Regions from separate parts of the Homo sapiens genome. Here regions 1 and 2 are each linked to region 3. Evidence: promoter capture Hi-C in human tissues and cell types (Jung and others, 2019). All regions are on one chromosome and are shown on one strand. The core of a region is centred on a gene start or on the middle of the fragment in contact, and the rest is flanking DNA. Distances in the headings are between cores, read along the strand shown.

Region 1 (4,822 bases), core at 1,817-4,316, 290 kb before region 3:
GCGGCCTTGCGGACTTCTCACCATCGTAGTCCGGGAAACAGATGCTGAGGTGCGCCTTCTTGATCTTCTCGAAGAAGACGTCCTTCTTGTTAAGGAAGAGCACGATGGACGTCGTGGCGAAGTAGCGGTGGTTGCAGATGCTGTTGAACAGGTGCAGGCTCTCGTGCATGCGGTTCTGAGGAGGGCAGCAGCTGTTGGGCACCCGGGGTAGCGTCCGACCCGCAGCACCTGCTCTCTGGGCTCCCGGGCACGCGGGGCTTCCCGCTCAGCTGGCTCTCAGAGGGCTCCCCGCACTGCCCCAGATGGGCCTGCTGAACGCCTCCGGGCCTCCTCAGGCCGCCCGGGACAGGCATCCCCTCCCGTGCCCTCCCCCAGCCCAGCGCGCGGTCTCCGCCTCCAGGGACCAGCAGCTCCTCCTCGCCCCCCTGGAACACAGGCCCTGCCTGGCACGCACCACTTCGTCGTCCTCCACTAGCACCATGTCGTAGGCGCTCAGCGCCGCGATGAAGATGATGCAGGTCACGCCCTCGAAGCAGTGGATCCACTTCTTGCGCTCCGAGCGCTGCCCGCCCACATCGAACATCCTGCGGGGCCGCGGGGGCCTGAACCTGCGCCCCGGGCCCCACAGGCAACATCCCTTCGCCCTGTGCTGGTCGGGGAGCTCTCGGCCGGGACTACCACCCTTTCTGCTGGCGGGGTATCAGGGAAGGGGCAGGGTCTATCGCAGGGATGGGGTCCCCGGGGCAGGACGGGGCCTGGGGCAGTGACCTCCTGGGCTAGCGTATGGGTCGTACCGGAAGTTGAGATCCTTGAAGGAGAACTGCGTCTCGATGATGCCAGTGGTCTTGACTCGCGAGCGCAGCACGTCCTGCTCGGTGGGCACGTAGCCCGGGGTTACCAGGCGCTCCAGGTCGGAGAGGTAGCTGCGCGAGACCCGGCCGTAGGTGGGTGGGGAGGCGTGGAGGGCCCCCTGCGCCCCGCGCCCCGCGCCCCGCGCTGCCCGCGCGCTCACTAGCCCGCCGAGTCGTTGAGCTGGTACTCCGAGGCGCGCTCAAAACAGGCCTGGATACCGGAGTCCTTCCACAGCCGCTGGATGATGTCCGACATCTCCTTGGGCATCGTGCCCTCCTCGATAGTGTCTGCCATGTGCATCAGCTTCCGGGCGTCGTCCTGGGGGCAGGGTGAGAGTGGCTGGTGGCGGCCAGGGACTCGGGCCCAGCCGCGAGCCTCGAGTCCCCAGAGGCCCGCTCAGCCCGCCTCCTGGCACACCTGGCGTGCAGAGTCTCCGTACTGGATGTTGAGTGTGGTCATGGCGCGTACGATGGCCAGGATGGACTGCAACGTGTTGCCGTAGATGATGGCGATAAACTCGAGGCACTCTTCCAGCGAGTACCCGTCCTGGTGGATAATCCTGAGGCCGAGGAGAGCAGAATCAGCGCCTCGTGGGGAAGTGGGGAAGGACCCAGACCCAGGGGCCTCGGGACAGGCAGGGGCACTCACTTCATCTGCTTGACGATGGTGCTCTTCCCGGACTCACCGGCACCTGAAAGAGACGCGGCGCCTCAGAGCTGCGCTGACCAGCCTGCCCCCTCCAGCAAGGAGGCCAGGAGGACGGGGACCTCCCGAGTTGGCAGGGTGGACCCGCAGCGAAGAGGCCTGAGCGCCAGCCCCGACCCCGTAGCCACACCTACCCCCCCATCCAAATTAAGTCCTGACATCCTGAAGTCACAAGGTTTGCAAATGCCAGGAAAGTGAAGAAAGGAAGCCAACGAGGGGACTCAACGACCTCAACTGTTCTGGGACAGGGGAGTCCCCAAGACCCCGGCACAGGCAGCCTTTATTATGCTGTGAGACTGCAATGAAGAAATCCCGGAGCGTCATCGCCACCTCGTGGGAGCCTCTGGTACCGCAAGCACTGGGTTATTTGAGGCGGGTAAACCCCTTGCATTTCACCTGAAGGGGTGCAGGTGTCTCCAGGAGGCTCAGAGGGAATTAGCTCTTTTGGGTAGGAGGGAGGGCAGAGTTGACATCCTTTCTGAGCTTGCCCCTGCGAGGGCGTTGGGCACAGTTAATGAGATTTCCGGCTTAGCCTCTCTGCCTTGGGGGAAAGTGGGACTGGCTTGGTCCCTCACCCACCTCCAGCTGGTTGACCAGACCCTGGGGAGCTTGGGTGGAGCCCCTCTTGAAGCTGCTTTTTCCCCTTGAGAGGTCAGGCAGTGACCTTGAGGCAGGCCTGGATCAGCCCCATCTCTCCTCAGTGCCCATGGTCCAGTGGACGCGGCTTTATCTACTCCCACTGGGCCTCAGTACCCGCCAGCCCCTCTGGCTGCTTTGTAGGTCTATCAGCCACAGCCCTCTGGCACCTGAGGGCCATTCGTTGTGGATCTGGGTGGTCCTAGAGGCTCCCCACTCCCAGGAGGACTATGGCCATCCCCTTCCCAAAGTAGCAGCCCAATAACGGGCTCCCAGTGAGGCTCCTGGCTTCTGAGCATTGCCTAGCAGGCGTATCAAACCAAAGGCTGCATGAAGCTTGCGGGAACCCAGCCACGGAAAAGTCGGCATCACACACCCGTGCAAGAGTGTGGTTGGCACGCACTTCTGGGGAGGGTGGGTCACCTGAGGCAGAGCCGTCTGGAGAGGGGCTTTGTGGGATGTCCAGCCCTGGGGGACTAGGACACCACCTGTCAGGCCTGGCCTTGCTTGGCCAGGGCTCCCACCCTGTGCCCTACTCTGTCACAGGCTCATACTGCTTCCCAGGGAATCCTTGCTTCACAGAAGGGCTGCCTGCCTGCCTCCAGACCAATGACCTGGTGGCAGTGGCCCCACCTGGGCCCACACCCCTACCCAGAAGCAGCAGCTTCACGGTTCGAGCATCCTTCTCAGCGTCCTCTTTCAGCTTCTTTTCCAGCTCCCTGGAGTGCTTCTCCTCAGCACTGGCCCCAGCCCCCATGGTCCCAGCAGCAGGCGAAGGGACAGAGTGAGCAGGTGGTTCTTCTGGATGGAGGGGATCCCCAGAACCTGGCCTCCCAGGCACCCTTCTGGCCCCAGGAGGACCTGCAATCAACTGGCTCTCTACGGACCTGTGCAATCCCTGGTGGGGCTGCTTAGTGGGATTTGGGGGCTAGGGGTGTCCAAGAGCCAATCAGAGACAAGGACAGGTGAATCCAGCTCAGCCCCCCCAACCCTTCTAATCGGGCTGGCATAGCCCCAATCCCTCAACCGCTGACTCTGCACTCCGGCTGTCCTTCTGTCCCCGCAACCCTCCAGGAGAGGCCCTGGCACTGCCTGGGAGTGGGGAGACATGTTCAGTAGGGTCAGGGCTGAGAAAGGGGAAGGCAGAACCTTGAGCCCTGGGGGTGAGGACAATGGAGGTGGGGCTGGCAGTGAGAGGGCATAATTGGGAGAAACATGCCTGCTGCCTGCCCGGCACCAGGCTCAGCACCACTCCTTATCTTGTTGTAAGCTCACACTGGCCCTGGAGTATGGATGCCCATATCATCAGCCTCATTTTACTGATGAGGAAGTAAAGGCTGAAAGGGTCACACAGTAGGAAGTGGTTAAGAAGGGCTGGTGACTCTGGACTGGGATTTTATGACCTGCAGGGAATCCAGAGAGAGGGAAACAGTGGGCATTGCATTCATCCCATATCACAGGCTGGAGCTGCCCCAAGGAGGTCCTCTGCTTCCAGCGGACTGTGGTGGGCATGCATATCTGCTCTGTGTGCCTCGGTGTATGTGTCTTTTTTTTTTTTTTTTCTGAGATGGAGTCTCGCTCTGTTGCTCAGGCTGGAGTGCAGTGGCGCAATCTCAGCTCACTGCAAGCTCCACCTCCCAGGTTCACGCCATTCTCCTGCCTCAGCCTCCTGAGTAGCTGGGACAACAGGTGCCCGCCACTACGTCGGGCTACTTTTTTTGTATTTTAGTAAAGACAGGGTTTCACCGTGTTAGCCAGGATGGTCTCAGTCTCCTGACCTCGTGATCTGCCCGCCTCGGCCTCCCAAAGTGCTGGGATTACAGGCATGAGCCACCGTGCCTGGCCTTTTTTTTTTTTTTTTTTTTTTTTTTTTGAGACAGAGTTTCACTCTGTTGCCAGGCTTGAGTGCTGTGACACGATCTTGGCTCACTGCAACCTTCAACTCCCTGGTTTAAGCTTCTCCCACCTCAGCCTCCCAAGTAGCTGGGATTACGGGCATGTGCCACCATACCCAGCTAATTTTTTGTGTATTTTTAGTAGAGACGGGGTTTCACCATGTTGGTCAGGATGGTCTCGATCTCCTGACCTTGTGATCCACCCACCTCGGCCTCCCAAAGTGCTGGGATTCAGGTGTGAGCCACCTCGCCCGGCCATGGGTGTGTCTTTTGCTGGCACCAAGCGAGCAATAACTTGACACATTTGTGCATGAATACCTGTGTGTACATGTGTGCCTGCATGTTTATGCCTTTGTGAGTGCATGTGCTCTTATAGGAATCACGTGCCTGTGCGCATGCTTATGTATGTGTGCACATGTATACACATGTGTATGCATGTGTGAATATGCTTTGTGTATTCTCTTCATGCACACATAGGCTTGTGTGTTTTGCAGTTTGTGTAGGTTTGCATGTGTGCACTTGCTTATACGCAGGGGTGTAAACATGCCTGTTTGTACCTGAGCATATGTGTGCCTGTGCATGTCCATCTCTGCCTGTGTATGACTGTGTGTGTGCATGCATGCTTGCAGGCGCCTGTGCCTATATGTACACTTGAATTTGGGTGCAACAAAGTCTCTAATCTGCAGAAGTGGCCAGGCTCTTCCAGAGAATGTTTTGCAGGCCTGTTGCCAGGT
Region 2 (4,453 bases), core at 829-3,328, 330 kb before region 3:
CAGGGTGCTTGCCACCAACAGCCCGGTGTTTAGCATAAACCCCTTCCTTAGAACCTTGGTACACATTTTGGCTGGGCATGGTTGCTCATGCCTATAATCCCAGCAACTCTGGGAGGCTGAAGCAGGCAGATCTCTTGAGGTCAGGAGTTCGAGACCAGCCTGACCAACATGGAGAAACCCTGTCTCTACTAAAATACAAAAAATTAGCGGGGTGTGGTGGTGGGCACATGTAATCCCAGCTACTTGGGAGACTGAGGCAGGAGAATCACTTGAACCCAGGAGGCGGAGGTTGCAGTGAGCTGAGATCATGCCATTGCACTCTAGCCTGGGCAAGAGTGAAACTCCATTTCAAAAAAAAAAAAAAAGACCGGGCACGGTGGCTCACGCCTGTAATCCCAGTACTGGGAGGCCGAGGCGGCAGATCACGAGGTCAGGAGATGGAGACCATCCTGGCTAACACGGTGTATTTTGTACTAAAAATACAAAAAATTAGCCGGCGTGGTGGCGGGCGCCTGTAGTACCAGCTACTCAGGAGGCTGAGGCAGGAGAATGGTGTGAACCCAGGAGGCGGAGCTTGCAGTGAGCTGAGATTCTGTCTCTGCACTCCACCCTGGGTGACAGAGCAAGACTCCGTCTCAAAAAAAAAAAAAAAAAAAAAATCAGCTGGGCGTGGTGGCACGTGCCTGTAATCCTGGTTACTCAGGAGGCTGAAACAGGAGAATCACTTGAACCTGGGAACTGGAGATTGCAGTGAGCTGAGATCACACCACTGCACTCTACCCTGGGCAACAGAGCAGGACTCCGTCTCAAAAAAAAAAAAAAAAAAAAAGAACCTTGTTACACATTTTGTTCCAGCTCCCAATCCCCAGGCTGGCTGTTCTCCCTGGAGTGTCTGCATATCCCTATCTGAATGTCTCTCTTGTTGAGGGGTCATTGGCCTGGAAGTCCTCCAATGACTCCCTCAGGCCCCCCTCCTGTCCTGAGACATAGGATATGATGTCCCATGTCCACCACTGCTCTGAAGCTCAAGCAGGCCCTGCCATGGGCATGCAACATGTTGAGGACACATAATGTCCACCAGGGCCACAGATATGCTGTAGACACCCACACATAGGTCAGTCTCCAACATGCCTCAGATCCACAGAACACACTCTACAAAAATGGGTACACATGGCCAAGAATACAATCTGTCCACGCACAGACTACAAACTGGCTTCCAAGGTGGGACCCTCCCCTTCCCTCTACCTGTCACCCTGCCCCAGGCTTGAGAGCTGATCCTCGCTCCTCTGGCCTCTCTAGCCTGCTCCTAGCAACAGCCAACAGCTCTCACAGTTGCCAGGCAACAGGGAGAACCTGTCAGCCCCTTGGAGGCCCAGCTCTCAGTAGGTGGGCGCAACACAGACCCCAATCTATGGAGGCAGGGCAAGATGGGGCTACTGGAAGGCATGGCCTTCCCCAGCCCCAGGCCAGGTCCTGTGGTTATGGCACCCTTCCCGCCAGTCAGCTGCTCCTTTCCAGTCCTATGCTCTTCCCAGGGAGTCCAGCAACCCTTGCTTCCACCCTGCTAGCTGCTCCTTCTCCATCTCCATGGGGTCCCCAGGGCTATGGCCAGGCCTCTGCTTGCCACTCCACTCATACACCTCCCACTCTGGGGGCTCAGAACCCCACAAGGTCCTCTCCAGCCTGACTTCTTTGATTGCCAGCCCCATGTCCACCACTGCTCTGAAGCCTCCCCGAGACACCCAGGCACCTCAAATCCACACTGTCCAGAACTGGGTACATCCCATCCCACTGGCCCCTGTTCCCAGGCTCTCCACCACTTCATGATCCCCCCACCAGCCACAGCAATGACCCCCTCCCCTACCCCTATATGCCATCAGCCTCTTCCCTACCTCAATTTCCCCTCCAATCTGTATTTGTTCTCTGTCCCCACTATCTCCCAGCCTAGGATTCTAACGTCTTCCTTGGCTCTCCTGTTTCCCTACAATTTATCCTCCACATGGCAGCCAAGGGCATCCTACTGAAAGAAATCACATCACCCCCTTGCTCGGAAACTTTCTGTGGTTCCCCAATGCCCTGAGAATAGATGAAGCCCCCACACACACTGGTTTGGACTCTGCAGCAGTTGGAGGCTGTAGGCTGGCAGTTGGAAGCAAAGACTCTGAGGAGCAGTTTGCAAACTTGCCAGCTACTTGTTACTTTGGACAAGTACCAGAAACTCCCTGTACCTCGGTTTTCTTATCAGTAAAATGGGCCTAACGGTTATACATACCCAAAGCACAGGCAGAGGTCAGGACTCCAGGAGGAAACATGTAAAACATGCAGAATGTGCATGGCACATAGAAAGCCCTCAATAAGGGTGAGGTGTTATAGTAGTGATTTCTTTTTTTTTGAGACTGAGTCTGACTCTATCACCCAAGCTGGAGCGCAGTGGCATGATCTTGGCTCACTGCAACCTCCGCCTCCTGGGTTCAAGTGATTCTTGTGCCTCAGCTCCCCAAGTAGCTGGGATTACAGGCGCCTGCCACCACACCCGGCTAATTTTTGTATTTTTAGTAGAGATGGGGTTTTGCCATGTTGGCCAGGCTGGTCTCAAACTCCTGACCTCAGATGATCTGCCTGCCTCGGCCTCCCAAAGTGCTGGATTGCAGGTGTGAGCCACCGTGCACGGCCCTTTTTTTTTTTTTAATAGAGATGAAGTCTCACCATGTTGTCCAGGCTGGTCTCAAACTCCTGGGCTCAGGCAATCCTCCCGTCTTGGCCTCCCAAAGTGCTGGGATTACAGGCATGAACCACTGTGCCTGGCCCAATAGTAGCGATTTCTGTAAGGCTTTATGATTGTCCCCACTCAAGGGTCCACCTCATGTCCCTCCACTTGCAACACACTGGCACTCCAACCATCTGGCTTGCCTTGCTCTCTCCATCCCTCGATCTTCCCTCCCATCCCCCTACCCTGTTAAATTAATCCCTCCTCCCCACCTTTCATTCCCTGGCTGTGAGCTGGGCTTCTCTGAGTCCCATTGTCCTCGGGCTTCCCCTTCCCCAGCCAGATCCCACTATTCTGGTCGTGGGTCTCTCCCACTCATATCCCTAATTCCAGGCCCCTTGCAGGGTGGCAGGTAAATATGTATCAACTTAAATGAATAAGGCCGGGTGCGGTGGCTCGAGCCTGTAATCCCAGCACTTTGGAAGGCTGAGGTGGGCAGATCATGAGGTCAAGAGATCGACTATCCTGGCCAACATGGTGAAACCCCATCTCTACTAAAAATACAAAAATTAGCTGGGCGTGGCAGCGCATGCCTGTAATCCCGGCTACTTGCGAGGCTGAGGCAGGACAATCGCTTGAACCCAAGAGGCAGAGGTTGCAGTGAGCTGAGATCGCACCATTGCCCTCCAGCCCGGCAACAGAGGTAGACTCTGTCTCAAAATCAATCAATCAATCCATCAATCAATCTCTTCATCCTGGAGCTGGGAGCTGCTGCCCCTCTGGAAATATTCATGTAGTTGTATACGCAGAGAAAAGAGAAACCAATAGTGCCTGGGAAGGTCAGGAAGCTTTCTTTGAGGAGGTGATGCAGGGAGTGCTAGAGGGAGAAGAACAGTGCGGAAGAATATTGCAAGAAGATGGAAGAGTACATGCAAAGGTAGGGTGGTAGGTCTGAGAGGCAGGGGTCTGGGGAAGGGCTAGCGAGAAAATTAAGGCTGAGAGCTGAAGAAACAAACCCCTTGCTTTGCAGCTGAGTCAGCTGAGGTCCAGAGTGGGCCAGGAGCCAGTCACAGTCATCAGTGAGGTACATCGTGGGCATCTCAGTTTCTTCATACTCAGGAATCCAGGAGTCCTTTCAGGAGAGTTCATTTTGGGGGCAGAGGGCAGCTGCCTAGCCAGGGCCTCACGAGCACCAGAGGAGGCATGACTTGACCCCATGCCCACCAGGCCCAGCACCGCTTGGACTAGACCATAAAGGACAATGGAATGACATCAGCAGAGTTGAGGGTGGCCCCTCAGCTGGAATGGAGAAGTGGCAGCTGCTGGTTCACCCCTACTGCCAGAATAGTCTTGGGGCTCACCACAGGCAGCACAGCAGGTCCAGCTTGGCCTGAGTTCCTATCGAGCAGTAGCCCTGAGCAGGTTGAGGAATGAAGACCCTCTCAGTGGGCTGTGACATGCTTGCCTGCAGGCTCTAGGAAGGGGAAGCTGCTAGCACTTCCCCAAAGGCAGTTTCGGGGTGGGTGTGCCTGTCCCTGCCCAGAGTCCAGGACTAGGTAGGACCCCACAGGGATGCCCAGAGTTCAGGATCCTGACCACCCTACCTCCACGGCTCCCAGATGACAGGGAGTCCCTGGCCAAGGACCTGTGACCAACTCAATCACAGCCTTGCAGCTACTGCTTGTAGACCTCGTGGCTACAGCTTGCTCCCGCCTTACTGCCCTGGGGCAGGTTCTACTTCCTGGT
Region 3 (5,064 bases), core at 1,931-4,430:
CAGGAGGCAGAGGTTGTAGTGAGCCGAGACTGCGCCACTGCACTCTAGCCTGGGCGACACAGTGAGACTCCGTCTCAAAAAAAAAAAAAAAAAAAGAACCTAATATAACTTGTTTGCAGTGAAGCTGGAGTGGTCCACACAAGGGCTGGGGTTCTCAAACTCCAGGTAACCTGCAGTGTGATGTGGTCATATTACAGTTAGAGAGACTCCCTTGCTACTGCTAAGGTGATCTTGGGATTAGAGAAAGAGGTTAGACCTAGTTCTCTAGAACAGTGTTCAGAGGGGACTGAGAGCTCAAGGAGGGAAAAGTGGCTAGTATTCCTTCAAGGCGTCAGGTGCTAGGGCAGTCGAGCAGGTTCTTAGCCAGCTATGTTAGCTTGGGGGTGCCCTTGTACTTGGCACTTAAGAGTCCCATTAGCTGACCTCCCCCACACACCTTGACTGCCCCCTCCTATAGAGGCGGCAGATGGCGAGAGGGGGAAGGGGTGCTCCTGTGTACCCCTGCTGTTGAGAACCAAGGCTGCCTTACAGGGGACCTCAGCCTGGGGACAGCCATTAGCGCGGCCACACGGTGGCAGCGGAGAACTAACGGATGGTTGCCGCAACACCACCCCCAAAAAGGGGTGGGTGGGGTGATCTAAGAGGGCTTGTGAAGTCTTCTCCCAACCACCAGAGATCCCTCTGAAAGTCTGGAGGTGGGATTTGGGTCACCAGAACCCCTGTCTGTGCGCCAGGCTGAGAATGTTTCATTTTAGTTTTGCCTTGCCTATCTTTAGATGTGTTGACTGTGGAATGCAGGAACCACGCCACGGTTTTCTCCGGGTGTTTATTCATTTCCTGGCCAATTCTGCTTTGGAAAAGGAGTGTCTTTTATGTCACCTCAGGGCACAGTATCAACCCTGCACTGGGTGTGGCCGCCCCCACTTCCATTTCCTCTTTCAGTCTTCAGGTGCTCATGGAGCTCCAGGCTGGAAGGAGGGGGAGTCCTGCACTGGGGATGGAGGAAGTGAAGTATCCAGAGTAAACTGTGCTGGGGTGAGTGTAGCACTGGGTCTGTGAGACCCAGGAGAGGGGACTGGCAAAGTCTGGATCAAAAAGGCTTCCTGGAGGAGGTGCCATTTAGGTGGCAAAAGGAGAAAAGGGAAAGAGTGCTCCTGGAAGGAGGAACAGCACTTACAAAGGTCAGGTTAGGAAGGGGATGCAGGCACAGAAGTATGAACTGAAAGGGGAGTGAGGAGATATAGCTCCCCAAGCCAGGCTAAATCCTGTTGGGCTGAGGGCTCCTCTCTCCCCCAGCCTCCTTATCTACAGCCTTGGGGCCCATAGTTCACAGCCCAGACCCACCCTGTGGACCTTCCCTGTCTTCTAGGGTCCAGGCCTATCTAACTGAGGGGTCTGTCAGGCTAAGGTTGTCCCCCAGGGGCCTCAGTCTAGTGTTGGGGGACCAGTTACCAAGGGGCAGCTGCTGAGATCCAAGTGTGGGACTAGGCTCCCCCACCCCCACTCCTCATAAACAGAAGAGAGAACTCTGGGAAATCACCTAGTCGGAACTACGTTTTCTTTTTCTTTTTTTGGAGATGGAGTCTCGCTCTGTCACCCAGGCTGGAGTGCAGTGGCACAATCTCAGCTCACTGCAACCTCCACCCCCTAAATTCAAGCTATTCTCCTGCCTCAGCCTCCCTAGTAGCTGGGATTACAGGCACCCACCACCACGCCCGGCTAATTTTTGTTTTTAGTGGAGATAGTTTCACCATGTTGGCCAGATCTGTCTGTTCACCATGTTGGTCTTGAACTCCTGACCTCAAGCGATCCACCCGCCTCGGCCTCCCAAAGTGCTGGGATTACAGGCGTGAGCCACCACGCCCGGTCACATATTTTATTTTAAAAACATTTTTAGCAGTTTTTTTGTTTTGTTGAGTTTTGTTATGTTGCCCAGGCTGGTCTTGAACTCCTAACCTCAAGCAATCCTCCTGCCTTGGCCCCTCAAAGGAGTGCTAGGATTACAGGCATGAGCCACGGTGCCCAGCCCAGAACTACATTCTCATTGAAGAGAATAAGATCCAGCAAGGCCTACAGAGCATGTTGGAAGTGTCCTGAGAGCCAAAGCCCATGATTCCTCCATATCAGGGGGGCACTGGGTAGAGCCAGGAAGGAAGGGGGAGTCCCCAAGGCCCATACTGTGGACCCCATTATACAGCTTCCATATACTGAGGCTGCAGAGGAGGTATGGGCCTCCACTTACGTGCCTCTCTGACTCTGAGGTCCAGTCAGCAAGGCCAGATCCCATCCTAAGACCCTTATGGCCCTGGGAGAGCAGGGCATAACACACCTTCCTCTGACACCATCTTGTCGCTGATAGCTCAGGAGAAGCACATGGAAGAATGGTCCCGGCCGGGCGCGGTGGCTTACGCCTGTAATCCCAACAGTTTGGGAGGCTGAGGCGGGCGGATCACCTGAGGTCAGGAGTTTGAGACCAGCCTGGCCAACACTGTGAATCCTGTCTCTACTAAAAATACAAAATTAGCCGGGTGTGGTGGTGCGCGCCTGTAATCCCAGCTATTCAGGAGGTTGAGACAGGAGGAGGTTGAGGCTGGAGAATCGCTTGAACCTGGGAGGCGGAGTTTGCAGTGAGCCGAGATCGCGCCACTGCAATCCAGCTTGGGCCACAGAGCAAGACTCCTTCTCAAAAAAAAAAAAGGACAGTCCTTTCCCACAAAGGGTGGCGCCCCATAACATCTCTTGTAAGTGCCCCACATCTCCCCTCTGGTCTTCCACACAATCCTGGTCTCTGTTCTCCACATGGTGGGCCCCCAGGCCACCTCTGGGCACCAGCCACTGAGGGTGTTGCTACTAAGTGCAAACTAGTTCCACCGCAAGCAAAGAGCCCAGTGTCCTGCCCCCCTTCTCGCTGCGAACCAGTCGGTAGTGGGGGGATGGGATGGGACGGCTCAGACTGGCTCACCTCTCTCCAGGCCACACCATGCACATCCACCCACAGGCCGCTGAGAAAAAGGCGCCAAGACGCCAGGTGAAGGTACAGGAGCCAGGCCTCCAAGGGCCGGAAGAGTCGGATGGGCGGAGGGCCTGGGCTAGGCCAAGCCTTCCTCGCGGCCCCGCCCCCACGGCCCGACTCCGCCCGCCCAGCCCGGCGCCCTCGGGTCGGCTGAGCGCTAAGCGCCAGTGTACAGCGGCGGCTGGGGCGGCAGGTGAGGCGGCTGGGGCGTTGCTGTCGTGCGTCCGCAGGCGTCAGGTGCTCAGACCCGAGGGCCGGGAAGGGATTTGGGTTTCACAGGAACCTGGGGCGGGGGTCCGCTATCTTGGGGCTGTCGGGACCGCTGCTTAAATTTGGCCCAGTCCAGACCTCGAGTCGGGCCCCCAGCCAGGCCCACGCCCAGGTCCAGGCCCAGGCCGGTAGGGATCCTCTAGGGTCCCAGCTCGCCTCGATGGAGCTCCTCCCGCCGCTGCCTCAGTCCTTCCTGTTGCTGCTGCTGTTGCCTGCCAAGCCCGCGGCGGGCGAGGACTGGCAGTGCCCGCGCACCCCCTACGCGGCCTCTCGCGACTTTGACGTGAAGTACGTGGTGCCCAGCTTCTCCGCCGGAGGCCTGGTACAGGCCATGGTGACCTACGAGGGCGACAGAAATGAGAGTGCTGTGTTTGTAGCCATACGCAATCGCCTGCATGTGCTTGGGCCTGACCTGAAGTCTGTCCAGAGCCTGGCCACGGGCCCTGCTGGAGACCCTGGCTGCCAGACGTGTGCAGCCTGTGGCCCAGGACCCCACGGCCCTCCCGGTGACACAGACACAAAGGTGCTGGTGCTGGATCCCGCGCTGCCTGCGCTGGTCAGTTGTGGCTCCAGCCTGCAGGGCCGCTGCTTCCTGCATGACCTAGAGCCCCAAGGGACAGCCGTGCATCTGGCAGCGCCAGCCTGCCTCTTCTCAGCCCACCATAACCGGCCCGATGACTGCCCCGACTGTGTGGCCAGCCCATTGGGCACCCGTGTAACTGTGGTTGAGCAAGGCCAGGCCTCCTATTTCTACGTGGCATCCTCACTGGACGCAGCCGTGGCTGCCAGCTTCAGCCCACGCTCAGTGTCTATCAGGCGTCTCAAGGCTGACGCCTCGGGATTCGCACCGGGCTTTGTGGCGTTGTCAGTGCTGCCCAAGCATCTTGTCTCCTACAGTATTGAATACGTGCACAGCTTCCACACGGGAGCCTTCGTATACTTCCTGACTGTACAGCCGGCCAGCGTGACAGATGATCCTAGTGCCCTGCACACACGCCTGGCACGGCTTAGCGCCACTGAGCCAGAGTTGGGTGACTATCGGGAGCTGGTCCTCGACTGCAGATTTGCTCCAAAACGCAGGCGCCGGGGGGCCCCAGAAGGCGGACAGCCCTACCCTGTGCTGCGGGTGGCCCACTCCGCTCCAGTGGGTGCCCAACTTGCCACTGAGCTGAGCATCGCCGAGGGCCAGGAAGTACTATTTGGGGTCTTTGTGACTGGCAAGGATGGTGGTCCTGGCGTGGGCCCCAACTCTGTCGTCTGTGCCTTCCCCATTGACCTGCTGGACACACTAATTGATGAGGGTGTGGAGCGCTGTTGTGAATCCCCAGTCCATCCAGGCCTCCGGCGAGGCCTCGACTTCTTCCAGTCGCCCAGTTTTTGCCCCAACCCGGTAAGCTGAAAGAAGGGGCCCTTACTTGTGAGCTGCATGCACATGGCTGAACACAGGCTGCTTCCCTTCCATCACTGAGGGGATCTGGGGGCGCGGTGGGGGGGCAGGCGGAAAGAAGCATTCTCTCTCACCCAGTTCCTAAGTGCTGGGGTGGTGTGAGAAACCAGCCAGACAAAGGCTACACTGGAGGCTTAGCTCCCAGGCTGGCCCTTGTGGCTGCCTCATCTTGCTCTTTCCCCTACCTGCCCATCATGGCCTCTGGTTTTTTAGGTAGTTTCCCTGGCTATGTGAGGATAGGGTTACATAACCGTGTCTCTGTTAGCATAGCTCCTGAATGCTGGGTAGAATGATGGGCATTCCCTCCTACTTGTCCACCACCCATATCCTCAGG

The links. The method cuts DNA at HindIII sites, captures the fragments that hold promoters and counts their contacts. A contact is called where the count stands out against the background at its distance.
Region 1: the fragment with the promoter of GNAT1 here is called in contact with the fragment with the promoter of MST1R in region 3 in 1 of the 25 tissues and cell types used here (adrenal gland).
Region 2: a contact is called between a fragment that was not itself captured here and the fragment with the promoter of MST1R in region 3, in 1 of the 25 tissues and cell types used here (dorsolateral prefrontal cortex).

The regions. Positions count from the first base shown.
Region 1 is chr3:50,189,854-50,194,675 of GRCh38, reverse strand. It overlaps GNAT1 (G protein subunit alpha transducin 1), which reads right to left and starts at 3,066. Exons shown (of 9, transcript NM_144499.3): 1 at 2,845-3,066; 2 at 1,501-1,543; 3 at 1,270-1,411; 4 at 1,013-1,170; 5 at 795-923; 6 at 455-584; 7 at 22-175. The coding sequence starts at 2,950. RefSeq lists enhancers at 1-276, 265-324, 277-793, 794-1,310. The HindIII fragment of the contact is 7,512 bases long and covers 1-4,822 here.
Region 2 is chr3:50,230,269-50,234,721 of GRCh38, reverse strand. It overlaps a transcript of GNAI2 not described here. Among named protein-coding and RNA genes, the nearest start is that of GNAI2, 3.7 kb to the left of the region's middle. RefSeq lists an enhancer at 3,936-4,165. The HindIII fragment of the contact is 6,486 bases long and covers 1-4,453 here.
Region 3 is chr3:49,901,989-49,907,052 of GRCh38, reverse strand. MST1R (macrophage stimulating 1 receptor) reads left to right here and starts at 3,180. Exons shown (of 20, transcript NM_002447.4): 1 at 3,180-4,673. The coding sequence starts at 3,444. RefSeq lists enhancers at 651-850, 2,135-2,807, 2,796-2,845, 3,482-4,155, 4,156-4,829 and 1 more and a silencer at 3,036-3,255. The HindIII fragment of the contact is 20,801 bases long and covers 1-5,064 here.